Regions from separate parts of the Homo sapiens genome. Here regions 2, 3 and 4 are each linked to region 1. The links are contacts of gene promoters, found by promoter capture Hi-C in blood cells and fetal thymus (Javierre and others, 2016). All regions are on one chromosome and are shown on one strand. Each heading gives the region's core, a stretch centred on a gene start or on the middle of the fragment in contact. The rest is flanking DNA. Distances are from core to core; before and after follow the strand shown.

What was found. Contacts are between HindIII fragments. The CHiCAGO score rates a contact against its expected background, and 5 or more counts as called.
Region 2: a contact is called between a fragment that was not itself captured here and the fragment with the promoter of IMPA1 in region 1, in 1 of 17 cell types (total CD4 T cells). The highest score is 5.8, in total CD4 T cells.
Region 3: a fragment that was not itself captured here is called in contact with the fragment with the promoter of IMPA1 in region 1 in 1 of 17 cell types (total CD4 T cells); the score reaches 5.2 in total CD4 T cells.
Region 4: a contact is called between a fragment that was not itself captured here and the fragment with the promoter of IMPA1 in region 1, in 1 of 17 cell types (naive CD8 T cells). The highest score is 5.2, in naive CD8 T cells.

Annotation. Positions count from the first base shown.
Region 1 is chr8:81,682,124-81,689,826 of GRCh38, reverse strand. IMPA1 (inositol monophosphatase 1) reads left to right here and starts at 3,502. Exons shown (of 9, transcript NM_005536.4): 1 at 3,502-3,575. RefSeq lists an enhancer at 3,256-3,756. The HindIII fragment of the contact is 6,947 bases long and covers 558-7,504 here.
Region 2 is chr8:79,752,347-79,760,049 of GRCh38, reverse strand. No RefSeq gene overlaps it. Among named protein-coding and RNA genes, the nearest start is that of HEY1, 12 kb to the left of the region's middle. The HindIII fragment of the contact is 714 bases long and covers 2,316-3,029 here.
Region 3 is chr8:80,013,604-80,021,306 of GRCh38, reverse strand. All of the region lies in intron 5 of TPD52-MRPS28 (TPD52-MRPS28 readthrough), which reads left to right. All of the region lies in intron 1 of MRPS28 (mitochondrial ribosomal protein S28), which reads left to right. Among named protein-coding and RNA genes, the nearest start is that of MRPS28, 13 kb to the left of the region's middle. RefSeq lists a silencer at 4,259-4,553. The HindIII fragment of the contact is 1,067 bases long and covers 3,950-5,016 here.
Region 4 is chr8:80,501,167-80,508,869 of GRCh38, reverse strand. The region is part of intron 2 of ZBTB10 (zinc finger and BTB domain containing 10); the gene reads right to left. Among named protein-coding and RNA genes, the nearest start is that of ZBTB10, 19 kb to the right of the region's middle. RefSeq lists an enhancer at 5,153-5,653. The HindIII fragment of the contact is 766 bases long and covers 3,678-4,443 here.

The sequences.
Region 1 (7,703 bases), core at 2,253-4,752:
CTGAGGTTCAGCGTAATTACAACCTCTCTCATAGATGGGAGTCAGCTGACAGGAAAGGATACCAAAGGCCTCCAAGAGGGAACTCCCCTTAGGGAAGGTTGGAAGAGTGAGGAGCTGGACATCATGCCAGGAAGCAGAGTTTGTGCTGCTGTCCCCTGCCCCCGACAACCACCTGGGCACAGCAGATATTCTTAGGTTTGGGAACAATGGCTGCAGATGGGACTGTAGTTTTAAAAAATGCCCCTTTGGGAACTCAAGGGCCATGCATCCTGTACTGAGGTCTCTGCAGCCATGTGAACTACCTTCACAGCATCAGAGAAAAGATCCTTTGGATTTGTGAGACCAGTTTCCAGCCCCACTATAATCGAGCCTGAACACTAAGACTTCCCTGTGCACCGGCAGATTTTCACTTCACTTTCGGTAAGGCATTTGGAAGCAGAACGGCCTCTTTGGACTGAAAAATACTGAGTGAGTTACCTGAGAACCAATGTGAAGTAGCTGTTGAGGTGAGGCCTCTTGGAAAAACTGGACTTCCTGCTCACCTGACATAGGAAGCTTGTAAGGTTTTCATTTGAAGGGATATTTGATATTTAGTTTATTTTACTTCAAATTGTTTATGCTGATTTTAGCAGTTTTTTCAAGTCACTGAAACCACATTCATTTACATAAACTTAGATGACCGATGACTTTTCTGTTAAAACTTTGGAAATATTAGTTGGTTACGAATGAGCACTTGTCAGCATGCGGTTGGCAATATTTTTATTTTAAGAAGATTGGCAATGAAGAACCGAAAAACTAGCCTCAGAAGCCTTTTTTTTTTTTCTAAGAAAATAAAGTATCATTTGATAGACATCCAAACCGGATACCTAAGGCATCACTCTTTTTGGATTAAAGATGTTTATTGGTCCTTGTGAGGTGTGAGAATTGAGTCCAGTCCAAATTACTCATCTCTAAGACATTTCATTTGAAATATATTGGTGACATTTTGTCTTTTGATTAAACAAACAGAAACAGTAACTTCCTAAGCAAAGAGCCAAATAACTAACTTACTTTCCTGGTCCAGTTGTAGCTAGGACATCTTATATCTGTGCAATGCTTTTTGCACTATGATGGTGTATGTACCACGATGTCGCTCTTTCTTTCTTTCTTTCTTTCTTTCTTTTTTGAGATGGAGTTTCACTTTTGTTACCCAGGCTGGAGTGCAATGGCGCTATCTCGGCTCACTTCAACCTCCACCTCCGGGGTTCAAACGATTCTCCTGCCTCAGCCTCCCTCGTAGCTGGGATTACAGGCACCCACCACCATGCCTGGCTAATTTTTGTATTTTTAGTAGAGACAGAGTTTCACCATGTTGACCAGGCTGGTCTTGAACTTCTGACCTCAGGTGATCTGCCTGCCTTGGCCTCCCAAAGTGATGGGATTACAGGCATGAGCCACTGCACCTGGCCAACTCTTTCAAGAAGAAGAAACATTTTAAGACCATAACTAGTCCTTGTACCTCATATAATGTGATCTCATTGTGCCATATATTCTCAGTGTGTAAACTTTTGTAGGGCCAAAGAAAAAACTTCCCTTTTGTCCTCTGAAGGTTTGGTGAAAATCAACTGACAAAAGGCAGATAAATAGAAGAAAAGGATTTTATTTGATCATAGTTTTATGTGACTTGGGAGCCTTCAGAATGAAGACCCAAAGGTATAAGGGGACAGTCCATTTTATGCTTAGTTTCAACAGCATATGGACAGCTGTGTAGAATATGGTTGGACAAAGAGGGTATAACCTAATGCTATTAGACTGGGGAAATCCAGTAAGACCTGTCTGCTTAGATTCTTCTTGGCCTCTCTCCATAGGACCCTCTTTGGAATGGGGGTCTTATGACCTAAACTCAGACAGGGTGAGTCATATAATTTCTTCGTGGTCAGATTTTACATAGAAACACAGGGAGAATGCTAGAGTAATATCTATCTATCTATCTATCTATCTATCTATCTATCTATCTATCTATCTATCTATATCTCTCTCTCTATATATATATATTTTTTTTTTGAGACGGAGGCTCCCTCTGTCGCCCAGGCTGGAGTGCAGTGGCGCGATCTCCACTCACTGGAAGCTCCACCTCCCAGGTTCATGCCATTCTCCTGCCTCAGCCTCCCGAGTAGCTGGGACTGCAGGTGCCAGCCACCACACCCGGCTAATTTTTTTGTGTTTTTAATAGAAACGGGGCTTCACCGTGTTAGCCAGGACGGTCTCGATCTCCTGACCTCGTGATCCGCCTGCCTTGGCCTCCCAAAGTGGTGGGATTACAGGCGTGAGCCACCTTGCCTGGCCTAGAGTAGTATTTTTATGTTTTATGGCTGGCTTTATAAAAAAGGGGTCCTGATTTCTGGGACCTGATTTGGGAAAGAGGAATTCTAGCTTCTATGACTAGTCTGGGGAAGAATGTGGGACCAGAGACAGGAGACCAAAAGGAGTCAGAGGAAAATTTTTCCTTCTAAGGCTGCTTCTGAGGCCTTCATTGTGGGGTATCATTTTCTGAACCCCAAAACTTTGAACTCAGTGTGTTTCACTCTCTGCTCTTGCTGTGTGACCTGAGGACAAATCACTTAACTACTCTGAGCCTCAGTTTCCTCATCTGTCTGACAAAGCTAATCATACCTTTTTCAAGAAACTGTTAAAACTTTAAGGAAAATAATGCATATAAAAACACATTTCGGCCAGGCGTGGTGGCTCATGCCTGTAATCTTTGGGAGGCCGAGGTAGGCGGATCACTTGAGTCCAGGAGTTTGAGACCAGCCTGAGCAACATGGTGAAACCCCGTCTCTACAAGATACAAAAATTAGCCGGGCGTTGTGGCAGGCGTCTGTAATCCCAGCTACTCAGGAGGCTGAGGCATGAGAATCGCTTGAATCCAAGAGGCGGACGTTGCAGTGAGCCGAGATCGCGCCATTGCACTTCAGCCCGGGCGACAAAAGTGAAATTCCGTCTCAAAAAAACAAAACAATAAAACCCCACACAATTGCTTGAAGCATAGTAAGTCCTCAATAAATAGTATGTAAGTAAATTATCAAGAATTGGGCAGTTGGTTCTGGTTATCAGTTTATTTTTTTTTAATCTAGTATAGGTTTACCAGCTTTAGGTTAGCACCTAAAAGCTGCATAATCGGAATCATATCTGCAATCTGGGTTTTGTCAAAATAGTACTATAGAATAAATGGGAGAAAGAAGAAAGCAAGCTAAATGGGAAACCGTGAATGAATGGAGGACGAAAGAAGAAAAAGGCAAAGTAAAGAGAGAAGTAATGTTTAAAAACTGAGAGATGAAAAGACAAGCAGGAGAAAAGAACCAGAAGCTAGAATGAAGAGGCAGTATCCCATGCTCCAGCGCGGGTCAGGACCCGGCCCGGCCTGGCAGAGGCTCGCAGGGCGCAGCTCGGGGCGGGGCCCAGCAAAGCAACCACGCCCCCTCAGGAATGGAGTTTTTAAGGGCGGAACTTCCTGTTGCGAGTAGCCCCTCTACCTCCGGAAGAGACGAGTGCGGTAACACCGTTCACAGAGCTAGCCGGACGTCCTCCGACTCAAGGTGAGACCGTTATTTTCCTCACCGCACCCTCCGGGTTCAGCGGGCGCTGTGGGTTTCCAGGGAGGCCCCTTCCCTCCTCAGGAGCGGGCGCGAGCGCCGTGCGCGGTCGGCGCCTAGGGTGGAGGCAGCCTCTGGGTGACCCCTGCCTGCTGCGTTATCCGGAGCTGCCCTGGGCGACCGGGAACAGTTCCGGCATTGGAGTAGCGGTTCGCTCACGCGACCTCACTTAACCTCTGTGGCGGCTTCTGTGGAATAATTGCCCCTTTTTATGTCCCCAACTCCGAAAAGCTCCTAGAAACTTGGTGCATCCCCAGGCCCAGGTAGTCACTCTAAGTGATGGGGCAGCGCCCAGGTCCTGTGCTGCCCGCAGTCGCGGTGCTGGGACAGGTGGCAAAAAGGAAGGTGGCCTGGCTCCTACGCTGGAAGGCTGTGACCAGGACAGAAACAGCAGGAAACAGTTCAGGTGTTTATGGCTTTGGGAAAATGAAAGTGAGTAAACTACGGACCCTGCCCATCAATAAATGTACTGTGATTTATATATATATAACTATTCATATATTATATATAACTATATATAAAAATATATATAAAATGTACTTATATACTTTATATATAGTACATAAATATACTTATGTATAGTATATATACTTATATATAGTACATAAATATACTTCTGTATACTTATATATAGTACATAAATATACTTACGTATATATACTTATATATAGTACAGAAATATACTTACGTATATATACTTATATATAGTACAGAAATATACTTAGGTATATATACTTATATATAGTACAGAAATATACTTAGGTATACATACTTATATATAGTACCTAAATATACTTAGGTATATATACTTATATATAGTACATAAATATACTTACATATATACTTACATATAGTATATAAATATACTATATGTATAGTACATAAATATACTATGTATAGTATATATACTATATATACTATATATAGTATCTATACTTATGTATAGTATATATAGTATCTAAATATACTTATGTATAGTATATATAGTATCTAAATATACTTATGTATAGTATATATAGTATCTAAATATACTTATGTATAGTATATATACTATATATAGTATCTAAATATACTTAATGTATACTATATATAGTATCTAAATATACTTATTTATAGTATATATATCTAAATATACTTATGTATAGTATATATACTATATATAGTATCTAAATATACTTACGTATAGTATATATAGTATCTAAATATACTTATGTATAGTATATATACTATACATAGTATCTAAATATACTTATGTATAGTATATATACTATACATAGTATCTAAATATACTTATGTATAGTATATATACTATACATAGTATCTAAATATACTTATGTATAGTATATATACTACACATAGATACTATGTATAGTATATATACTCCACATAGTATCTAAATATACTTATGTGTAGTATATATACTCCACATAGTATCTAAATATACTTATGTGTAGTATATATACTCCACATAGTATCTAAATATACTTATGTGTAGTATTTATACTCCACATAGTATCTAAATATACTTATGTGTAGTATATATACTTATGTGTAGTATATATACTTATGTGTAGTATATATATACTAGATATATATATCTAAAGATACTTATGTGTAGTATATATACTACACATTAGTATCTAAAGATACTTATGTGTAGTATATATACTACACATAGTATCTAAAGATACTTATGTGTAGTATACTGTAGTATCTAAAGATACTGTGTGTAGTATACTATATATAGTATCTAAATATACTTATGTATAGTATACTATATATAGTATCTAAATATGTATGGTATATATACTATATATAGTATCTAAATATACTTATGTATGGTATATATACTATATATAGTATCTAAATATACTTATGTATGGTATATATACTATATATAGTATCTAAATATACTTATGTATGGTATACTATATATAGTATCTAAATATACTTATGTATGGTATATATACTATATATAGTATCTAAATATATAGTATATAAAGTATATTTACTGTATTATATATGTGTATGTGTGTGTATGTGTGTGTGTGTGTGTATGTGTGTATGTGTGTGTGTGTGTATATATATATATATATAGTTTGCATCCACCATTCCTGGCTCATAACTCCCATAGCCCTTGACAGGAATCTTGGCCCACCTTTCTGTCTTAGAACTAGCCATGAAGAAATTCTCTGACCTACCTTGTCTGACTGTAGATCGTAAGACCTCCATTTCACAAGGGGTCTTGCCCCATATACAGGAGAAAGGAATGCTGGACAGAGAGGCCAAGATGAATCCGAATGGACAGTCCTTGCTGGGTTTCCACAGTCAGTCTGTTCCATTTGGATCATACTGATTTTGTGGGATCACATTTCTACACAGTTGTCAATCATGCCTATCCAGTGATTATCCAGACTCAGGACCTCAGTTGCTGTCTACTCAAGTAACTTACATGTTTCTACATGGAGGCCATACCTCTCCTGTGAGCTCAGGATCCATGATTCAGCTGCCTAACTGACATCTTTTGATTTTACAGAGGCCTCTCATCTTCCGCTAATTAAACTCCTGATCTCTCAAACTCCTACCTATATCCCAAACTTGACTCTTTTTTTGTTGCTCCCTGTTTCAGTAGACTGTGACGGTTATCCATACAGTTGCCAGAGTGGGAAATCTGGACATCCAGATTCAGAGGAAATCTGAACTCTTCCTGTCCCTGGTACTCTGTAGCCAATCTGTTAGATTCCCTCAAAACAGGTATCTCTGACTCTCTTAACTTCTCTACCAGCAAAACTTCCCTCCCAGGTTTCAGCCAATCATCAGGTATCCTCCCACTACTGCATCCTGAATGTAAATCTGCTGACCCTCTACCAACACCCACTTTCTACCCTTCTGTTGAGTAGCCACAATGAAGTGATTCTTGAAGCCCCTTCAATCAATGTCTTATCCCTAAGGCCCCCCTGTAGAGGATGATCCCCACTACCTCCCCAGCTTTATCTCTCCTGTTTCCCTTAATCTGAGCTGTCACTCTTAGGCTGTTCAGTTAGTCTTCATGTACCAGGCATCCTGCAGTTGATTGAGTTCATGCCTGTTCACTTGTTCTCATCTTGGTTTAATCTTGTCTTCAGGGAAACCTGATCTGATGCCTAAGTCCAGGTGAAAGCTCCCCTGTTAGATGCTTCTCATTGCACTTCTTCTCCTTAACTTATATTATTCCAGTTGTTATTTTGCATGTAGTCTTTAGTTTTTGATTGATATTGAGTCCCCTCCTAGAAAGTGTGAACAGGACCTGATTTTCCTCCCCATGGTGCAGTGTATAGCATACAATAGGTATTCAGTAAACATCTATTGAAGGATGAAGGACATAGTGACTTCTGGGTGGAGAATCCCTAGAAGTAGCTTTTGAAATGGGTCCTGAAGAATTTGTAGAGTTACATTAGTGCTGTTAGAAGGCGGGGGTGTGAGTGGCTTGAGCTGTTTCTGGCAGGAAAGCAGGTACAGCTTGAGAACATCTAGTTCTGTTAAGACTAGTGGAGCAGAATGGGAGTAAGAGTGAAAAAAAAAAGTTTGGAAACAATTCTTGAAGAGCTTGAAGGAGTTGCTTATATGACTCATAGAGTGGCTTCCTTTAAAACAAAATTTTAAAAAATGCTTTAATCAGGAAGAAAAAGCATCAGGAAGAAATTTAGCGTGTGGGTCTTTTGCCCTCCTTTCCACTCCTGTCCTCTTTCCTATAATGTGGGCCCCAAGATAGGAGTTTCTGAATAGTCTTCAAGATGTAACTCTGTGTCTATTATTTTCTATTGGAAAGGAGACAAAATTAGGGTTGTTTTATAAATGGTGCCACAGTTTTTAGTCTGACAGCTTAAAAAGCTTTACTGTGCTAGGTACAGACTTCAGAGTGTGATCAAGCCAGTGGTGAGTTATTTTAGTCTTCAGAAGTCAGTGGAAAACTGGACAGTTTAGAACACAAATATATGTTGGGTTTTTTTTTCCCTCTGTGAAACTCAGGGAAATAAATTTGCTTTTTTCTTATTTTTTTTGGTCCTGGAATTTTCTTTTCTCAGAATGTTA
Region 2 (7,703 bases), core at 1,423-3,922, 1.9 Mb after region 1:
CTCCACCGTACCCAGAATTATCTGACAGAATAGATACTTCATTGACTGTTTATTATCTGTTTTTGCCTGGTTTGTTCACTTCTACAGTTCTGTCACTTAAAATTGCCTAGCACATTAGAGGCTCTCAGTAAGTATTTGTTGAATGAGTGAATGAATCCTATCCACCCCCTTGGTCTCCACTAAGAAGCAGAGCAACCGGGCAGGGTGGCTCATGCCTGTAATCCCAGCACTTTGGGAGGCAGATGCGGGCGGATCACCTGAGGCCTGGAGTTTGAGACCAGCCTGACCAACATGGAGAAACCCATCTCTACTAAAAAAAAACAAAAAACCAAACAAACAAACAAACAAAAATAGCCAGGTGTGGTAGCACATGCCTATAATCACAGCTACTTGGGAGGTTGACTGGAGAATTGCTTGAGCCCAGCAGGTGGAGGTTGTGGTGAGCCGAGATTGCGCCATTGAACTCCAGCCTGAGCAAAACTGTCAAAAAAAAAAAAAAAAAAAAAAAAAAAAGCAGAGCAAAAGAGAGCCAGACAGGCAGGTCTTTATCCTCCAGCCCCCACCTTCACTACTCCCAGGGAAGATAATTTTATGTTTCACTTCAGTACTTCCTCTTCACTATTATAAAATTCTGCTTTTATTTATTTTATTTATTTTTATTTTTATAGAGAGACAGGGTCTTGGTATGCAAACTTCTGGACTCAAGCGATCCTCCCACCTTGGCTTCCTAAAGTTTTGGGATTACAGGTGTGAGCCACTGCGTCCAGCCAAAATTCTGCTTTAAAAAAAAACCAAACTCAAACATCATTCTTCAAGTCTATTTCCTTATTTATTTATTTCCTTATTTATTCCCACTTCTGTGTGCCTAGTGGGAATGTAGGGATATTGGTCACCTTTCTTTTCTTTTTTTTTTTTTGGAGGTGGAGTCTCGCTCTCCACCTCCCAGGTTCAAACAATTCTCCTGCCTCAGCCTTCTGAGTAGCTGGGACTACAGGCACCTGCCACCACGCCCGGCTAATTTTTGTATTTTTAGTAGAGACGATGTTTCACTGTGTTGCCCAGAGTGGTCTCGAACCCCTGAGCTCAGGCAATCCACCCACCTCAGCCTCCCAAAGTGCTAGAATTACAGGCATGAGCCACTGCATCCAACCACCTTTCTTATATTCCCCACAAAAGCCCCCACTCTCCTCTGAAGACATAGGCTTTCAATTTATCTTCACTTCCACCTTCTCTCCAATTAGGGTGTCTCAGTGTTTTTGATCTTCCCCCATTTTAGTACAACCTTTGGGATGGGGATGGGGGAGCACAGCAACTGTATTTTTATTTATTTTATTTTATTTTTTGAGACAGTTGCTCTGTTGCCCAGGCTGGAGTGCAATGGCACGATCTCAGCTCACTGCAACTTCCACCTCCCAGGTTCAAGCAATTCTCCCACTCCAGCCTCCTGAGTAGCTGGGATTACAGGCATATGCCACCACGCTCAGCTAATTTTTGTATTTTTAGTAGAGACAGGGTTACGTCATGTTGGCCAGGCTGGTCTTGAACTCCTGACCTCAGATGATCCACCCACCTCAGCCTCTCAAGGTGCTGGGATTACAGGCATGAGCCATTGCGCCCAGCCAAGTGTATTTATAAAAATGGAGAGAAGAACAGAAGTTCTATTATGAGAACAGAGTACATACCACTTAGGGTTTATAGGACAGCAACACAGATGAAGCGTTTAGACTAAACCTGAAGAAGTTAAAGAAACTAAGATATAGTCTGTGATAAGTTGGAGGCTGAAGGGCGACTAGGAAATTATTCGTTTCCATATATAAAGACACGGTCTTATGAAAACAGAGGCCAGAGGTTCTCAGGTGGAGACCCACATCCTCGCACAGGGCAGAGACCCGTGGGGTTGAGATGGGAAGGGGCCTGCAATTCTCACCATGGTTCTGGCCATTAAGCAGCCATGGGTTTGTAACAGGATTTTGAGTACAGCTTTTTCTGTTGTCCGGTAATAAGCTGAGTGCACAGAAGTGGTAAGTACCTCATATTCTAAGGAACGCAAATCAACTTGGGACCCAATATTTCTGACAGGATTTTTTAATAGGAGCCTAAACTATCCTTTCCATGTTCAGCAGTAGCCCCCATAGCTGAACCTCATCCCAGCTCACCTAAGAAGATGGGGAAAGGGATGAGAAAGGAGATCATGGACATGATGAGGAGTGGCCTAGCTTCTCCCCTCCCTGTAGGGAGTAGGTGAGTTGAAAGTTTATGAGGGATTGCAGTGGCTGCATGAGATTCCAGGATTTATAGAAAGTGGGTTTGAAGCTTGAGCTGCTGTCAGAGCTGAAGGGAAACAGCTGCCTCCTTCTCTTCGCAGGGTGTGGTTCTTGGAAACGCAGGGGATTAGGATGAAACTGAACATCTCCCCTAAAATACCACGCACATCACCCACTTGGAAAGCATCACATCAGCAGAAGCCTCCGGCAGCAGATGGAAAACAGAGCCAAAGTGAGAACGCAGGTTCCTGGCAGCCTCCCCCAACTTATGTGGGAAGATGTTTCCCTCCCTCTTTTCTCTTCTCCCGTCCTCAATGCTAGCGTAGTTAACGTTGGGAAGGGAAGGCATGGAGGAATACTAGACTCAGAACTGGCCTAGAACATGAATCCCCACCCAGACCCTCCGAGGTGCTGGAGGAGGAAGAAGAGCTGAAGGGTAGACAATATCCCTTCCCGCTCTCCCTGACCCCCAAGTCCTCCTCCCACATTTTAGCTGATGACAGGATGGGGAAAGTTTTAAATGAGAAAGGAGATTGACATGTTGAAATAGACTGAATTTTTGTTTATGGAAAATGACAAGGAAATTCTTTGGTCTGCCCAAGACATGATTAAGAGAAAGCAAAGGGATATTTGTCAGAATATGGTTGAAAGCAGTTATTGTAAAAATAAAACAACCCTCAAAAGACCCACTATTTCTTATTCCTCACTCAGTGGAGAAGTGCATGTTTAGTCCAAGAAATGACACCCAAGCAAATGGAAGAAGCTTGTGCAGAGGATTGTCATATCCGCCTTGATAATTTTGGGGAATAGTGAAACATGGAAGAGATAATGGACGAATGAATTTTTGAAAGAGAAGGTGGATTTTTTATGCTATTAACCAATGAGTTTATGTTAATACAGGGCAACGTTTTAAGAGGAATTATTAACATGGTCACCTGGAGCATGTATTAAAAAAAAAAGTGATGCCCAGGCATGGTGGCTCACGCCTGTAATCCCTACACTTTGGGAGACCAAAGTGGCAGGATCGCTTGAGCTCAGGAGTTTCAGATTAGCCTGGGCAACATGGTGAGACCCTGTCTCTACCACCCCCCCACCAAAACAAAACAAAACAAAAAACAGTAGCTGGACATGGTGGCATGCACCCGTAGTCCCAGTTACTGGAGAGGCTGAAACAGGAGGATCCCTTGAGCCCAAGGGTTCAAGGCTGCAGTGAGCTATGACCACGCCACTGTACTCCAGCCTGGGTGACAGAGCAAAACCCTATCTCAAAAACAAACAAATAAATAAACAAATAATAAATAAAAGTGATGAAAACCAGCAGCTAACAAGAGTTCACAAAGAATAAGCCATGCCTTACGAACTTCCATTCCTTTGGAAAAGGCTTACTGTGCTGGGCTATGGGAGGATACTGCAGAATAGTGTATCTGCACTGCTGTGAGGCATTTGACTAAGTGTTTTACCATTTCCTGGAACAGTACTAGAAATGTGAGCTGCATGATGGGACAGTTAGAAGGCTCAGGAATTAGTTAAATGACAATAATTCTTCATTTAGTGTTTGTATCACGCCCCGCATTGTGCTGGGGGCTTTTCACACATTATCTGTAATCTTTAAGAATGGTTACTCTGAAAGGTCAGTGTTATCATTTCTGTTTACAGATGAATAAACTGAGATTATGCAAGATGATGACAGTCATCCAAAATCTTCCAACAGTTATGAAGCAAAGCTAGAATTTATTGGCAAATAAAAAGTCCACACTTTAAAAAACTTAACACTCAAATTTAACTTATCAGTTGATTGATTTTTCACTTGGCAAGAGTCTCCTGTGATATTTTCTAATGATTACAGTAGGCTGAAAGTGAAACAAACTTCTTGGGGAGAAGATGAGTTCCCTGAGATACAGGATATTGAAGCAGAGTTTGGTCCACCCTGAATGTTGTGAATGGGCTTCACTAGAGGTTCTAACCAAGGCTTTCCAAGGGTGATGGATACATGGATACAGATGTTTTAAAGGCATCAATCTCTAGATGTTGAATTACCACATGTATGCAGTTCTTGACTTGCCAGTTCAGCCTCCCCACTGCTATGCTCACAGGCAGCCTTTCCCCTTAATTATAAAAGCCATACCCTTCACCCATCCCAAATCTGCAGACTCAGAAACTTATAGGATGCCAGACAAAGGGACAATTCTAAAACTTGGTTGCAGGAAAATCTTCCTTAATGATCATTGAGAAACTTTAATCTCACCATTGGCTTCCTGTTTATGCCCGTTTTACACATATTTTTGTTATGGATGAAACATGGATTAGAAAACAAAGTATTCAAATGTTCTAAATTTAGAAATTTTGAAGAGAAGCATGGTGGGAATGATAGCAATGATCATTTAATAACCTTGCCTCTTCTATTTTCAAAACGTTGTCCAAGACTGTATCTTTCTCTAGAGTCAGTAAGAACAAAGCAAACACAGCCTCAGTCAGAAATGTGAATGCCAGAGGGGAACAACACACACTGGGGTCTGTTGGGTGTGGCACTGGGGGAGGAAGAGCATTAGGAAAAATAGATGATGCATGCAGGGCTTAATACCTAGGTGATGGGTTGATAGGTGCAGCAAACCACCATGGCACACGTTTACCTATGTAACAAACCTGCACATCCTGCACAAGTACCCCAGAACTTAAACTTAAAATAAAAAAAAAAAAGAATCATGAATGCTTAAATGACTTCTTTTCTCCTTTCATGTAGGTAAACTGAAGCAATTCTTTTCAGTTAATCTCAACACTCATTCTTTAGGTCTTCTAGGCAGAAGAGAAAGTGGTATAACTAAGAGTTCCTTTAATAAGACTTGGTAAAAAAATTTTTTTAGCATATTTCCCAGAAATTGAGAAAGAAACTGACTAGTGACTATGTAACAAATATTTTTGAAAATTAGGTACTTTCCAATTCTTTGCCTTTGTCAAAATGAAGATCATCTTAAATTGTCAGCTACTAGAACATTACTAATAATTTTGATTATGGATCATCTAAATATGATTATTGGCAATATTAATTTATTTATACATGAACTACTTGAGAGGGAGCCTATTCATTTTAGTAAGAAGATATGCACATTCAATAACATTTTACTCTTAATAATAGTTATCAAAATATTTTATTAATTGTATAGTAATAATTGTAATAATAACTCAATCCAGAACCTACTTTCCTTCCTTCCTTCCTTCCTTTCCTTCCTTCCAGCCATCACTTAGAACCTTATGGTCTTAATAAATAAAAACTAAAATAATTGAATTTATATGCAAATCTGTATCAGAGAGAACTATAATTTGAGATCAAGAAAATACTTTCAAGCATAAAAATGTGTTACTAGGATAAAACTCAGTAGGAACATGAAATGGCAATAGGAATTCAAAGACAAAAAAATGATGTAAATTTCCCACTATCCAAGAGGAACTTGTGTTTGTATTTTCAAGAAGAATAATGGCTGTTATCAAATCATTATGATATTTAGCTTTCATTGGATGCCTTTAACATTTTATTAGATGTCAACATTAAACCCTAAAAAGTGCATTTTTTGGCCACCATTTAAACTTTAGAAAATATTTTAAATGTCAATTTTATTTTGTTGTATTTTTAGCTTTATCAGGGTATAATTGACAAACACAAACTGTATATATTTAAGGTATATAACTTGATGTTTTCAATGTATGTATATACATTATGAAATGATTATCACAATCAAACTAATAAACATGTCCATCACCTCACATAGTTACCTTTGTGTGTGTGTGTGTGTGTGTGTGTGTGTGTGTTGAGAACACTTAAAATCTACCCTCTTAGTGAATTTTAAACATGTAATGGAGTATTATTAACTATAGTCATGATGCTGTACATTAGATCTCCAAAACTTATTCATCCTGCAAAACTGAAACTTTGTACCCATTGACCAACATCTCCCCATTTCCCCCACTGCCTCAACCCCTGAAAACCACTATCCTGCTCTGTTTCTATGAGTTAGGCTATTTTAGATTCCACATATAAGTGAGATCATGCAGTGTTTGTCTCTCTGTGTCTGGTGTGTTTCACTTAGCATGATGTCCTGCAGATTCATTCATGTTGTTGCAAATGACAAAATTTTCTTTTTTTTAAAAGGCTGAGTAATATTCATATATATATATTTAATCCATTCATCCATTGATGAACACTTAGGTTGATTCCATATCTTGGCTATTGTGAGTAATGTTGCAATGAACATGGATTGCAGACATCTCTCTGAGATACTGATTTTCCTTTGGATATATACCCAGTAGTGGGATTGCTGGATGGTATGGTAGTTTTTATTTTTAATTTTTTGAGGAACCTCCATATTGTTCTCCATAATGGCTGCACTAATTTACATCCCCACCGACATTGTGCAAGGGTTCTCTTTTCTTCACAACCTCACCAACATTTGTTATTTTTTGTTTATTTTGTAATATCCATCTTAACAGGTGTGAGGAGTTAACACATTGTAGTTTTAATTTGTATTTCCCTGATGATTGGTGATAAACGAACATTTTTTTTTTCCATATACCTGTCAGCCATTTGTATGTCTTCTTTTGAGAAATGTCTTTTCAAGACCTTTGGTCATTTTAAAACCAGGTTGTTTTCTTGCTACTGAGTTGCTCGAGTTCCTTATATATTTTGGGTATTAACCCCTTGTCAGATGTATAGTTTGCAAATACTTTCTCCCATTTAGTAGGTGCCTTCTTCACTGTTTTGATTGTTTCATTTGCTGAGCAGAAGGTTTTTTAGTTTGATTCAATCCAACTTGACTATTTTTGCTTTCGTTGCCTTCACTTTGGTGTCATATTAAAAGAAATCATCCACACCAGTGTCAAGAAGCTTTTCCCCTATGTTTTTTCTAGAAGTTTATAATTTCAGGTTTCACATTTAAGTTTTTAATCCATTTTGAGTTTATTTCTGTGGATGGTGTGAAGTAAGAGCCCAATTTCATTCTTGTGCATGTGGAGATCCAGTTTTCCCACCATCATTTGTTGAAGAGACTATTCTTTCCCCTTCGTGTGTTCTTGGCAGCCATTATGAAGAATAGTTGACTGGAGATGCATGGATTTATTTCTGGACTCTATATTCTGTTCCATTGGTTTATATGTCTGTCTTCTTCTTCTTCTCCTCCTCCTCCTCCTTCTTGTTATTGTTCTTCTTCTTCTCCTTCTTCCTCCTCCTTTTCCTCCTCCTCCTCCTGTTCTTCTTCTTCTTCTTCCTCTTCCTCCTCCTCCTGCTGCTTCTTCTTATTTCTTCTTTTTTGCTAGTACCATCCTGTTTTAACTACTGTAGCTTTGTAATATATTTTGAAATCAGGAAATCTGATGTCTCCAGCTTTGTTCTTCTTGCTCAAGATTGTTTTAGCTATTTGTAATCTTTGGTGGTTCCTTATGAATTTTAGG
Region 3 (7,703 bases), core at 3,234-5,733, 1.7 Mb after region 1:
ATTTGTGGCTGGGCGCAGTGGCTCACACCTGTAATCCCAGCGCTTTGGGAGACCAAGGTGGGCGGAACATGAGGTCAAGAGATCAAGACCATCCTGACCAACATGGTGAAACCCTGTCTTTACTAAAAATACAAAAATTAGCCGGGCATGGTGGCTCATGCCTGTAGTCCCAGCTACTCGGGAGGCTAAGGCGGGAGAATTGCTTGAACATGGGAGGCGGAGGTTGCAGTGAGTCGAGATTGTGCCACTGCACTCCAGCCTAGCGCCAGAAAGAGACCCAGTCTCAAAAAAAAAAAAAAAGTGTGTGTGTGCGAATATATATATTCGTACTGTAGTTTCTTTTGTTATATACATTTTAAAGCATTTACACATAAAAACATTTTGAAGGTGAAGTTAAAAAAAACAAATAGAAATTCCAGTGTTTTCTTCTTCTGTCCTATGGGTTATGATAGAGATCACTATTCTTTGTTACAACCTGACCTTTTTCCTTCAGGCCTGCTCTGTAAATGTGTGTTCGTTGGCCACAAATTTCCTATGTCTTTTTACGAACAATCTCCCCTTTAACCTTCTCTACAAGTATTTCTTGCTTGCTTTCTTGGTTTCCCTTGATAACACTGCTTCCCTTCTGGTCTTCCCTAGTATAGATTGCAACGGGTCTCAAGGCTAGGAGGAAAAAATGACTCATCTTCGTTCTCGTTTCTCAGTACCATTTCAGACTACTGTTCTATCAGAAATACTTTAAAAAGGCTCCTTGATAAAAATCTTTTCAATTCTTTCCATTTTTCGTCAGCATCTGGCTCACAGCTTTTCTCTTTTCTTCATACTTACCATTTTCATTGACCAGCATTTACATTTGTAAACCAAAAATAAAATTCTAAAGCCCCCTCAACCATCTGAATGGACCCCTCCTGTCAGCCAAGGGCGTTCCAAAGTTAACCTGAAAAACTAGTGCAGGCCGTGATGGGAAGGGGGAGCCAGACGTGCCTCATTATACCTCCCTCCTTTCAGAATTAGTGATAGAAATGACTCTTTAAGTCTAGTAAGAAACATTTACAATCTGTTTTCTCTGAAGCCTGCTACCTGGACGCTTCATCTGCATGATAAAACCATACTCTCCACAATGCCTTATGGTCACGCAGACATTCCTTTCTATTGATAATAACCCTTTCAACCAATTGCCAATCAGAAAATCTTTAAATCTACCTATGACCTGGAAGCCACCCTCGCAACCTGCTTCTAGTTCTCCTGCCTTTCTGGACTGAACCAGTGTAACCAATGTACATCTTACACGTATTGATTGATGTCTCATGTCTCCCTAAATTGTATAAAACCAAGCTGTACCCTGACTTCCTTGGGCACGTGTCTCAGGACCTCCTTAGGCTGTGTCATGGGCGTGTCCTTAACCTTGGCAAAATAAACTTTCCAAATTGATTTAGACCTGTCTCATACTCTTGGTTTACACATTAATGACTACCAATACTTTGGCCACATAGTTTTTTGTATATTAACCTTATATTGTGTAATGTTGCTGTAATTACTTATTCCAGGAGGTTTTTTTCTTGTTGATTCTTTTTGATTTTCTACATAGGTCATCATGCCATCCATGATCATACACAGTTTTATTTCTTCCTTCCCAATCTGTATACTTTTATTTTTTCTTTTTGTCTTATTGCATTAGCTAGGACTTCTAGTACAATGTTGAAAAGCAGTGATGAGAGGGGACATCCTTGCCTTCTTCCTGTGCTTAGTAGGAAAAGTTTCAAGTTACTTACCATTACATATGTAGGTTTTTTGTAGATATTCTTTAGGAAGTTGAAGCTTTCTCTAGTTTTCTGAGAGTTACTATTATGAATGGGTATTGGGTTTTGTCAAATGCTTTTCCATTTGACGAAATGAAATACGACCATGTGATTTTTCTTCTTTAGCCAATTGATGTGATGGATTACATTTTTTTTCTATTTTTAATTTTTGTGGGTACATAGTAGGTGTATATGCTTAGGGGGCACACGAGATACTTTGATACAGGCATATAACATGTAATAATCACATCATAGTAAATAGAGTATCCATTCCTTCAAGCATTTACTCTTTGTGTTAACAATCAAATTAAACTCTTTTAGTTATTTTTAAATATACAGTTAAATAATTATTGCTTATCACCCTGTTGTGCTCTCAAACACTAGGTCTTACTCATTCTTTCTAACTACTCTTTGTACCCATTAACCATCCCCACCCCCTTATATACTATAAGTATACTATATCACATATAGGGGAGTGGGGATGGTTAATAGGTACAAACCCCCAATACCCTTCCCAGCGTCTGGGTAACCATCCTTCTACTCTGTCTCCATGAGTTCAATTGTTTAAATTTTTAACTCCCACAGATAATAACATGTAAAGTTTGTCTTTCTGTGCCTGGCTTATTTCACGTAACGTAATGACCTCTGGTTCTATCCATGTTGTTGCAAGTGACAGGATCTCATTCTTTTTTATGACTGAATAGTAGTACTGCATTGTGTATATGTACCACATTTTCTTTATCCATTCATCTGTTGATGGGCACTTAGGTTGCTTTCAAATTTTGGCTATTGTGAACAGAGCTACAGCAAACATGGGAAATGTCTCTTCAGTATACTGATTTCCTTTCTTTGGGGTATAAAACCAGCAGTGGGATTGCTGGATCATATGGTGGCTCTATTTTTAGTTTTGGTTATTTGTTTTTTGTGGAACTTCAAACTGTTTTTCAGAGTGGTTGTACTAATTTATGTTCCCGCTAACAGTATATGATGGTTCCCTTTTCTCCACATCCTCATCAGCATGTATTACTGCTGGTCTTTTGGATAAAAGCCATTTTAACTGGGGTGAGATGATATCTCATTGTAGGTTTGATTTGCATTTCTCTGATGATAATGATGTTGAGCACTTTTTCATAAGCCTGTTTGCCATTTGTATGTCTTCTTTCGAGAAAGGTCCATTCAGATTATTTGCCTTTTTTTTTTTTTTTTTTTTTTGAGACAGAGTATTGCTCTGTCTCCCAGGCTGGATTGCAGTGGCACGATCTCGGCTCACTGCGAGCTCTGCCTCCTTCCGGGTTCATGCCATTCTCCCGCCTCAGCCTCCCCAGTAGCTGGGACTACAGGCGCCTGCCACCATGCCCTGCTAGTTTTGTTTTTGTATTGTTAGTAGAGATGGGGTTTCACCATGTTAACCAGGATAGTCTTGATATCCTGACCTTGTGATCCGCCCGCCTCGGCCTCCCAAAGTGCAGGGATTATAGGCGTGAGATTATTTGCCTATTTTAAAGTTGGATTATTAGAATTTTTTTCCTATAGAGTTGTTTGAACTCCTTATATATCCTGGTTATTAATGCTTTGTCTACATTTTGATTTTTGAATGTTAAACCTGTCGTAAGTCTCAGTTGTGGTATATAATTTTTATATGTTGTTGGATTTGATTTGCTAATATTCTGTTGAGGATTTTTGCATCTACATGCATGAGAAATATTGGTCTGTAGTTTTCTTTTCTTGTAATGTCTTTGTGTGGTTTTGATATTAAGATATTACTGTCCTCATAGGATAAGTTCCACTCCTATCTTCTGAAAGAGATTGTAGAGAATTGGTTTGATTTCTTCTTTAAATGTTTGGTAGAACTCACCAGTGAACCCATATGGACCTGGGGCTTTCTGTTTTGGAAGTATATTAATTACTGATTTAATGTCTTTAATAGACATAGGCCTATTCAGATTATCTGTTCTTCTTACTTGAATTTTGGCAGACTTTGTCTTTCAAGGAATTAATCCATTTAATTTAGGTTATCAAATCTGTGGGTATAGAGTTGTTTATAGTATTTCTTTAATGTTCATGGGATATGTAGTGATGTCCTCTCTTTCATTTCTATTATTAGTAATTTGTGTCCTCTCTTTTTGTTTTTCTTAGTCTGGCTAGAAGCTTACCTCAAATAACCAACTTTTGCTTTCGTTGATTCTATTGATTTCCTGTTTTCAGTTTCATTGCTTTCTGTGCTAATTTTTATTTTAGATAAGTTGTGTTTTCATTTTCATTTAGTTCAAAGTATTTTTAAATTTCTCTTGAGATTTGTTTGACTCATGTTATTTAGACGTGTATTTGTTTACTCTAAGAATTTTGGGATTTTTGAGCTATCTTTCTATTCCTGATTTCTAGTTAAATTCTAGTGTGGTCTGAAAGCAGACATTGCATGATTTCTATTCCTTTAAATTTGTTAAGGTGTGTTTTATGGTCCAGAATGTGGTCTGTTTTGGTGACTGTTTCATGTGGCATGAGAAGAATATATATTCTGCTGTTGCTGGATGAAATTGTCTACAGATGTCCATCATATCCAGTTGATTTATGATGTTGTTGAGTTCAGCTATATCCTGAGTGATTTTCTCCCTGCTGGATCTGTCCTTTTCTGATAGAGGGACATTAAAGTCTCCAACTGTAATGATTCATCTATTTTTCCTTGCAGTTTTGTCAGTTTTTGCCTCATGGTTTTTGACTATTTTTAGGCATGTACACATTAAGGATTATTCCGACTTCTTCAGATAATTAACCCTTTTATTATTAGCAAATTGTTTAACATGAACAAACTGTTAATTGTTAGATCAATTACTAATTAAAAACTTAAAAGTTTTAATTTTACCTTCACATATTCCTTCTCTGTGTTCTGCCTTTCTTTATGTAATGTAGATCTGAGTTTTTGACTTTTATAATTTTCTTCTTTCTAAAGAATTTCTTTAAACATTTCTTGCAAGGCAGGTCTACTTGCAACAAATTCCCTCAATTTTTATTTGTCTGAGAAAGTCTTTAATTCTCCTTCATTTTTGAAGGATAACTTGTCAGGGTACAGAATTCTAGGTTAGTATTTTTTTTTTTTGTTTCCTCTTAACACTTTAGATATCTCACTCCACTGTTTTCTTGATTGCATGATTTATGAGGAGAAGCTGGATATAATTTTTATCTTTTCTCCTCTGTAGGAAAGCTGTTTTCCCCCCAAGCTTCTTTTAGAATTTTTTCTTCATCTTTGATTTTTCTGTAGTTTGAAAATGATACTATATGCCTAGATGTAGTGTTTTTGGTGTTTATTCTGGTTGATGTCCTCTGAGCTTCCTGGATCTGTGGTTTGGTGTCTGATATTAATTTGAAGGAAAGTCTTAGTCATTATTGTTTCAAATATTTCTGCTGTATTTGTCTTTCTTCTCCTTCTAGAATTCCCATTAGTTTACACCTTTTGTAGTTGTCCCAAAGTTCTTGAATATTCTGTTCAATTTTTCCCTCAATCTTTTTTCTCTTTGCTTTTCAGTTTTGGCAGTTTTTATTGAGGTATCTTCAGAGTCACAGTTTTTTTTTTTCCTCAGCTGTGTCATCTACCTGTAAGCCCATCAAAGGCATTCTTCATTTCTGTTACAGGGCTTTCGATCTCTAGCATTTCTTTTTGATTCTTATTTAAAATTTCCATCTTTCTGCGTACATTGCTTATCTGTTCTTACATCTTATTTCTTCCGTTAGAGCCCTTAGTGTCTTAATCATAGTTGTATTAGATGCCTGGACTGATAATTTCAGTATCCTTGCTGTGTCTGAATCTGGTTCTGATCCTTGCTCTGTCTCTTCAAACTGTGTTTTTTGCTTTTTTGTCTATCTTGTAATTTCTTTTTGATAGCTGGGCATGATGTATTGGGTAAAAGGAATGGCTGTCAATCGGCCTTTAGTAATGTGGTGATAGGGTGTGTGGGGAGGGAAAGTGTTCTATAGTCTTATGAGTGGGTCTCAGTCTTCTAGTGAGCCTGTGCCTCTGGACTATGAACTGCACATTTGCTTCTCAGTGTTTCCCTCTCTTTTGGTAGGACAGAATGACTAGTGCCAGCTAGAATTGGTTATTTCCCTTCCTCCAGGACACTTAGGCTCTGACAAGTGTTTAGGCTTTGGTTGAAGAGTTTCCTTGAGGACACATGTCATATGCATGATAGTTTTATATATGTGCTTAATGTATATTAAAAAGACAACACCTGTTTGATAAATGAATTGTTGAATAAGAGAGAGTGCTCTGATGTATTTCAAAATAGTTCTATTCCCCACAGAACTTGCCGTCTGAAGTACAAGGGGATTTTTCTCCTATATTCACTGTAAGGACCAGGTTGAGCTCCTGGAGTTAAAACTCACAAAAGTGTGAGAGTCCCCAATAACTGAGTCTCTCTGGAGTTTTTAACTTTCAGACTTGTCCCACTGAGCATCCACCAATTCACCAGTTACAGCTCGGGTTTCCCTACCTCGGCACTGGTTCCCACAGAGGTTTCTTCTTGGAGGCTTCTTTTCAGTAGTTCTCTGCATTCACTTGTCTCTCCACATTTGAGAACAGCAGTTTTCCCTGTGACCCCCACCTCTCAGATGCATCTAAGAAGAGTTGTTGATTTTTCAGTCATGACAATCAAACACATCTCCAGACATTGCCAAATGTCCCCTGGAGTGGGGGTGGCAGGGGGGAAATCATCTTGGTTGACAAATACTAGATTAGTCAATAAAACTTGATGGTGGTGACTGAGTCTATAAGAAATTAATTTTTAAAGAAGCTAAAGTTTTTGACAGGGTCTGTTTACCTTCAGACACTATTTGAGTGCTTTACATATGGCCACACATTTATTCCTTACAACAATCTTGTAAAATAGATAGATATAATTACAAACACCATTTTATAAGATGAGTAAACAGCAGCACAGAGATTCTAAGTGCACAGACCTGTCCCCAGAGCTGGTAAGCGGTAGAGCCAAGGTTCAAGCCATGTGGCCAGACTTCCCAGCCTTCCTTTGGGAGCCCTCGTATTTGAATCATCACAAATTGTTCATATGCTTGCTGCACAGCTGTCATTTGGAGTCTTTTCTTTGCTGCTTCTATAGGTTATAGAAACAGTATAAGTTACTGCTGCATAACAAACCATCCCAAACTTGGCTCTCCTCTGTACAATTTGTTTGATTTTTTTAAGGGAAGAGAAAAAATATATTTATTTTTGACAGGATAATACATGCCTATTACCAGATATTATGCACTTGAGGAATTTTGTGCTTGACAGAATATTGACTGCCCTGCCTCTGTTGTTTTTAGCTATTCTCCTTGTTTTCAGCTTGTCTTCTCACTGCAGCCTGGCATGACTGAGCTCCATACCTTTATGGAATACTTCAGGATAGAATAGCTTTCTTTTTTTCACAGCTTCTTCTTCTTGAATTTCACTCTGCTTCATTAATTATCACTCTTCCACATGCTTTCTGTCCACTAGAAAGTATGTTTGTATACTTTTGTTCTCCATCTGTTCTCTTCAATATTGAGAGTTTATAATTTTTACAATTTTTTAATTTATTATTTTACCATCATTTAATGGGATTTCAGGAGGGAGAGAGATAAATGTAAGTACCTTATCACCTTGAGCCACCAATACGTTTATTTCAATAAAAGAACTCTGTTGCGAGCGTAACATTTATTGGTTAGTGTTAAAGAAACAAAAGTTATTATAGCACGGTTAATAGAAGTGGGTCATTTTTGGAGATGCATGTTGAAATTTTTTTCTTGCTAACCAGTATGAAGTAGTTAAAGTATATATACCATTTCATTACTTTTATTGTTATTGTTTTTTTTCTTTTTTCTTTTCTTTTTTTTTTTTTTTTTTTGAGATGGAGTCTTGCTCTTTTTGCCCAGGCT
Region 4 (7,703 bases), core at 2,811-5,310, 1.2 Mb after region 1:
ACCACTCACTACTTCAGAGTCTGTAAAACAAGTCAGAATTTATTACAATACAAAAATAACTAGTTATACCTATAGACAAGGTAGTAGGAAATTGGAGATGTCCCCACAACACTACCCCTTTTCTATTCTTCGACCCACTTATTCCAATTTCTTCCCATCTTGCAAGTCAACGAATGCTCTTCTTCCCCTCCTAGCAAACTCCTACATAACAAAAGATCCACTCACACTGCCTTCTCTATGAAGCTTTCCCAACTCCTCTGGGCAGTTAGGACTGTTCCACTGCACCCCGTCATGCATCTTAAATAATCTAATTTTAACATTTATCACATGGCACTGAGTATGTTTCTACCCCACAGTCACCCTATTGTGAATAAGTTCCGCATAAGGGACTCCTCAATCTTGACATTATGTGGCCTATTGCTCAGTGTCTTTAGATTTTAAATAAAAACGTTTCCAAATTTCCTATTATATGTGGAAAGCTATTTTGGAGTTCCCAGAAAGTTATAACATTTCTGAAGAGTAAAGCTTTGAATGAAAATTTACACTATCTGGTCACCCTACTATATATTAAGTCTGTATCAGAAACCAAAAATTCAGTTCTATAAAAAACTTTCAGGGACTGGCATTTATATGGTTTAGACAACTTAACACCTTCAGCAGGAAGAAGTCACAAAAATGCCTTAACTGACCCACATAAGACTTCTTCAGCTCTTCAGCTTTATTCTGACCACTTAAAGAGTTTCTAACTTACAGGTAATAATCAACAGTGTAGCCACTTCTTGGGTCAAGTATGATACAGGGAAGGAAAGCAACAGTAAGCACAGCAAAAGGGGAAACAGTGGCAGACTACTATTTCACCTACCATATGGTTGCCTACTACCATCTTTTAAAATTAAATACTGAAGATTCTTATGCATTAGTATATCATATAACTCATTAACTATTATTTATTTTTAAAAATAAGCATCAGGGCTGGGTACAGTGGCTCATGCCTGCAACCCCAGCACTCTGGGAGGCTGAGGCAGGAGGAGAGTTGAGCCCAAGAGCTGGACACCAGTGTGGGCAACATAACGAGACCCTGTCTCTATTTTAAAAATCTAAAAAAAATTAGCCAAGAGTGGTGGCCCATGCCTGTAGGTGTGCCCAGGTACTCAGGAGGCTGAGGCAGGAGGATCACTTGAGCCCAGGGATTTGAGGCTGCAGTGAGCTATGATCACTGCACTCCAGCCTGGGTGACAGAGGGAGATTTTTTTTTTGAGATGGAGTCTGGCTCTGTGCCCCAGGCTGGAGTGCAGTGGCGCGATCTCAGCTCACTGCAACCTCTGCTCCCGGGTTCAAGCCATTCTCCTGCCTCAGCCCCCCAAGTAGCTGGGACTACATGTGCCCGCCACCATGCCTGGCTAATTTTTTTTTGTATTTTTAGTAGAGACGGGGTTTCACTGTGTTAGCCAGGATGGTCTCGATCTCCTGACCTTGTGAACCACCCGCCTCGGCCTCCCAAAGTGCTGGGATTACAGGCGTGAGCCACCGTGCCCAGCTGTTTTTTTTTTCTTTTCTTCTTTTGAGACTGAGTCTCGCTCTGTCACCCAGCTGGAGTGCAGTGGCATGGTCTTGGCTCACTGCAACCTCTGCCTCCCGGGTTAAAGTGATTCTCCTGCCTCAGCCTCCCGAGTAGCTGGGATTACAGGCGCGCGCCACCACACCCAGCTAATTTTTGTATTTTTAGTAGAGATGGGGTTTCACCATGTTGGCCAGGATGATCTCGATCTCTTGCCCTCGTGATCCACCTGCCTCGGCCTCCCAAAGTGCTGGGATTACAGGCGCGAGCCACTGCACCCGGCCTCAGAGGGAGATCTTGTCTCTTAATAAAATAAAATAAATAAATACATAAGTAAGCATCTGGCCTTCAGCACCCTCCCCCTAATTATTAGAACCCCCCCAAGTTGCTAATGAAAAATGAAATTAAATTCTGACTTGCATCTCATCCTTCATAGCATACTCCATAGGATGCCTAAGAGGTTTAGCAAAACACTCGGAATCTCCTAAGAGAATAAAAACTAATTCAGATCCATAAATCTGTTACGTGAGACCCTTGGGGTAAGATTTAGAATGCAGAATTTTTCAGATTTTATAGCTATGACTGTAACACCCCATGTGGGGTCTGGAGTAGCACCCTATAATGAAAACATGAATATTTATACAAAACACTAATATTTATACAATAAAACATGAATATTTGCAGGGCGTGCTGGCTCACGCCTGCAATCCCAGCGCTTTGGGAGGCTGAGGCGGGGGTTGGGGGGGGGGTGGATCACCTGAGGTCAGGAGTTCAAGACCAGCCTCACCAACATGAAAAAAACCCGTCTCGTCTCTACTAAAAATACAAAATTGGCCAGACATGGTGGCACATGCCTGTAATCCCAGCTACTCGGGAGGCTGAGGCAGGAGAATTGCTTGAGCCCTGGAGGTGAGGTTGCAGTGAGCCAAGATCACGCCACTGCACTCCAGCCTGGGCAACAAGAGTGAAACTCTATCTCAAAAAAAGAAAAAAGAAAAAAAGAAAAAAAACCCATGAATATTCACATTTAAGGAAGTAAAAAAATATAAATAGCTGATTTGTTGCCAAAATGATTAAGAAAAAGCTTTGGGTCCTCAGAACTATTAAGATTTCAGAATTTTAAGGTAGAAATTTTACTTCTTTCCCATTAGGGAGGCTGTCTGGGATACACTCAAGGCTAGCATTGTGGCAAAACTGAATCTAAAGCCCAAGTCTCCTTCACCAAAGCCATGTCCCATGGTTTTGAAACATATTTTAGACTGGACACAGTGGCTCAAGGCTGTAATCCCAGCACTTTGGGAAGTGAGGCTGGAGGATCCCTTGAGCCTGAGACCAGTCTCCTTGGCAACAAAGCGAGACTTCACCTTTACTTAAAAAAAAAAAAAAAAAAAAAAAATTAGCCAGGCATAGTGGTGCACGCCCACCTGTAGTTCCAAGTACTCTGTGTGGCTGATTGCGGGAGAGTGAGGCGGGAGAATCACATGAGCCCAGGAGGTTGAGGTTTCTGTAAGCCATGATCATGACACTGCACTCCGCCTGGGTGACAGAGCAAGACTCTGCCTCAAATATATGCCTTATTACGATTTCTTATATCTATCTAGTTTGGATATTCTTTTCTCAAAATAGTTTTCAAAGTACCAAATTGTATGCTTTTTTACCAAAAAAGCAATTACACAAATAAGTGCAAAGCTTAAACCTGATTTCAACTCTACTTGTAAGGATTAACGCAAACCTAAAAATGCTGCAAAACTATTTTTCCATCATAAGTCTAGGTGAAAGAAACTTCCAGGTTATTTAAAAGAATTCTAAACTTTATCTTTTAATCAACTAAAATTACCTTACATTTGAGTATTCGTATGGCATAAGGAAAAAAAATCATTTACATAGAACTACATCAGCTTGTGGCAAAGATTAAAAATATAATAATCGACTGCTGCATTTACTAGAAAACATCTAAGGAAACTGTCCATTATATTACTTGGTGTCAACTACATAAAAAAATCCCACTGGAGAAATTCCTTTCAGAAGTCAGTACCAGGAAGTTTGTCATCCTGGTAGAACTGGTATGTTTTTCTCTTTTGAGTAAGGCTGTTTTGTATCTTAGAGCCAATTAAAAGCTTAATTAGGGCAACCACATTTATATCCATGATGAGCACTCTTAACTTCTTTGCCAATTTTACTTTATTTTGCTAATTTGTTTCTTTTGTCATTTCAAAATAAGGTATGTATGCATGCAACGTACATACAGAGTAAAATTATTTATAATAGGTAGAAGTTGCTAGTATGACAGGTATAAATTTAAAAATCTAGGCTCAGAAAACCATGTTCCATGAGCCCGCAAAATAAAGTGATTTTAAAAAATCAGATTAACACCTGACTTGTTCTAGTTAAACGGGACACAACATGTGTGAATACACGTTGTAAAACAAATTTAGGCACTAGTTATCTGTACTTCTGTAATTCAATTTCTAATCTCAGGTTATCTACTTTATTTGGCTAAAATTTAATGTTTCCTGGTTGCAAATCAGCAAGACAAGGATTTTGAAATTTTTACATTATCAGAGCAATTCACTCACGACATCATTTTTACCCTTATTTGATTACCCAGATTTTAGTTTTTGCTGACAGTTTTAATTATTCCATAATCCCAGTATGTGCATATTCTCTTAGGACAGAAATTTCTAACTTTTCTGAGTTCTACCTTCAAAGTATTCTTGTGTAAAAGAAATGATCTGAAGTGAAGTCAAACAACAAATATGACTCTGTAGTGAGTCAAACAACAAATATGTTAATTTCAAGATAAAAAAATACCATCTGAATAAAAACCCTGCAGCTATGGGTACACCTTCTTATCTCAATCTTTAAAAGGCACCCAAACAAAAGCTTCAACATTATACAAGACAGCGTTATTAGAACTGTATCTTACAAACTCTGTGCTGAAGACCTGAGGGAAGACACAGTAACTAGAAGAGACCCCCGCCAAATCCAAACATGCCAAGCATTGTTTGCAGATTGAACAATTCACTAAGACTTTTCAGATGTTTGCTATAGAACTTCAAATTTATTTAAAAGCATTTATTTCATGGACAACTGTTTTCTCAATAAATGGAAATTAAAGCATAACTAATGATGAAGGGGATCATAAAAATATTTTAAAGTTAAAAGGAACTAATTTTTTAAAAAAGATAGGAATCTACTACTTTAGTAGTTAATTTCAAGGTTTTCATGCAGCATAGTCCTAAATATGCAACCTGCCTCTTTCTACTCTTACTAGCTGAATGACCTTGGGAAGGCCTTAACGTTGGTAAACACAGGCTATGTTCTATATTGGTCAGAACTTGCCTGGAAAGAGTAAATTGTGTGTATTCATCACAAGATGGGCAGAAGAGCACATAGCCTACAAAAACAGGACTCTTTAAACGTCTAACATTTGAAGGGTTATCAGGTAGATTAGAGGAATTAGGTTAGGTTTAAATTATACTATTCCAGGCAGAGCGCAGTGGCTCACGCCTGTATTCCCAGCACTTTGGGAGGCCAAAGTGGGCAGATCACTTGTGGTCAGGAGTTTTTGAGACCAGCCTGGCCAACATATAGTGAAACCCTCTACTAAAAATACAAAATACAAAAATTAGCTGGGTGCAGTGGTGCACGCCAGTAGTCCCAGCTACCTGGGAAGCTGAGGCAGGAGAACGCTTGAATCTGGGAGGCGGAGGTTTCAGTGAGCCAAAATCATGCAACTGCACTCCAGCCTTGGTGACACAGGGAGACTCTGTCTCTCAAAAAACATAAATAAATAAATAAATAAATAAATAATAAATTACACTATTCCCAACGACAGAATTAGGAAGTTATAGAGAAGCAAATTTTGGCTACATTTAAAATGACTACCTAATAATCAGTCATCCTACACTGGAAGCTGCTTAGGGAAGTCTTTACAAGCAGTCAAAAAATCAAGCTGAGGCTAAGACCATCTATCTGGCATTTGGTAGAAAGTACACAGCACCGGAAAACTGATATGAATAACCTCAATAGTCTTTTCCAAGTTTAAGGAGGATTGCCATGACCAAGAGTTATTTCATATTTGTCACTTCATTTTCATAATAATTCTATAAAATCAACACAATATTTTAATGAGGAAACTGAGGACAAGAGCTTAATTTGATCATGGACTACAGGGGGTAGGTGGCACAGCTTATTTTTAAATTTTAAATTCATTATGTTTGACTCAATTTAGGCTCTTTCCAATATAGTAATATTTGCTGATCTCAGCCTTAACTCATAAAATTACCTGTAGAACTTTAAAAAAAATTCCACATCCAAACCACATTCCATACCAATTAAATTGGAATCCACAGAAGAGAGACCCTTTACGGCATGTAATGCTCCCAAGTGATACCAACGTGCATACCCATGATTAAGAACCACTGCTATATACGAAGGGTTGGCAAGTTTTACTGGAACACACCTACCTTCATTTGTTTACATAGTACAAATGACTGCTTTCATGTCACAAGTGGCAGAGTTGATGAGCTGACTTTTATGACCAACAAAGGTGAAAGTCTTTTTTTTTTTTACTGTTTTAGCCCTTTACAGTAAAAATTTACCAGTCCTTGGTTCTATATCATATTATATACCCTAACCATAATGCTCTTTTGAGACCCATTTATTTTTTCCACCAAATAACACTGGTGGCATGGATAGAACCAAATTTGTGAGTTAAGCAAGGTTCGGATACCAAACTGGTATCAATGAAATGAAAATAATCCTTTTTAAGAGACGGCTGGGCACGGTGGCTCACCCATGTAATCCCAACATGTTGGGAGGCCAAGGTGGGTGGACTTGAGGTCACGAGTTCGAGACCAGCTTGGCCAACATGGTGAGACCCCCGTCTCTAGTAATAATAAAAAAATTAGCCAGGTGTGGTGGCATGTGCCTGTAATCCCAGCTACTTGGGAGGCTGAGGTAGGAGAATCGCTTGAACCCAGGAGGCAGTGGTTGCAGTGAACCAAGACTGTGCCACTGCACTCCAGCCTGGGCAACAGAGTGAGACTCCGTTTAAAAACAAACAAACAAAACAGATGTAAGAGATAAAGCATATTAGACCACCAATTAATTTATAATAGAACTAGTCCATTAACACAACCATGGCTAGGAGATACTTGATAAAAATTGCTAGTAATGTCATCTTTGAAAGTATGCATTGTGGTTCATTATTAATGCTTTTCTTTAAATCACTCCAATTATATGTGGCATTAATTTTTTAAATGAGGTTACTGCTGACTAGTTACCATCAAACAACCGCTACACCCAAAAGATGTTATTTATTCCTTTAAGGAAAAGTGTGTGTATTTAAAAACACTACAGGGTTCCCACCATACTGTTAAACAGAAATAATCCATACAGCACAAAGACAACGTAGCTCTAATGAGAAATCTGTCAAGGTCTTCTACATTAAGACAAAACAAAGTGCTAGCTAAGGAGTCTATCTACCCTTAATACTTCATTTAACTAAATTGTCTCAGGGATTTTATTGTTAAAACTTGATATAAAGTACAAGGAAAAAGATATATAGTATTCGTTATATATACACACTTGATTTTTCACACAGTAAAAATTTCACACACACACACACACATACATACACAAAATTCCTATCACTGAAAGCTAACCCAAATCTAAAAAGCCAGAGGAACATTTCACAGGATTACTATGGCATTTTGCCCTCTGGCAACTAAAAACAGTGATTCCTTTAACAGAAAATACTCCATCCTCAGATGACCACCATCGTATAAATCAGACACTGAACAGTTACAGTGCTTTGAAGTGAAAAAAACAAGCATTAAATAATGTATGACAGTGGTGGACAAGCCTCAGGCATGCATAGGAAACCTCAAACCCACTGAGCTTCTTCAAATAAAGATATGCACAGCCAGATTAAACTAAAGACTTAACAATGGTCTTCTCGTTTTAAAAAAATTCCCACTGTAAATGTGATTCTCTAAGATTCCTACGGAACTTTTGGAGAGAAATATATTGAAGAGAAAGGCCTCAGAGGCTTTGCAATGAATGCAAAGGTGAATGAAAATCAGGTGACAGTGGACAAACAAAATAGCTTCTATGGTGAGAACAGAACAGTACCTGCTCT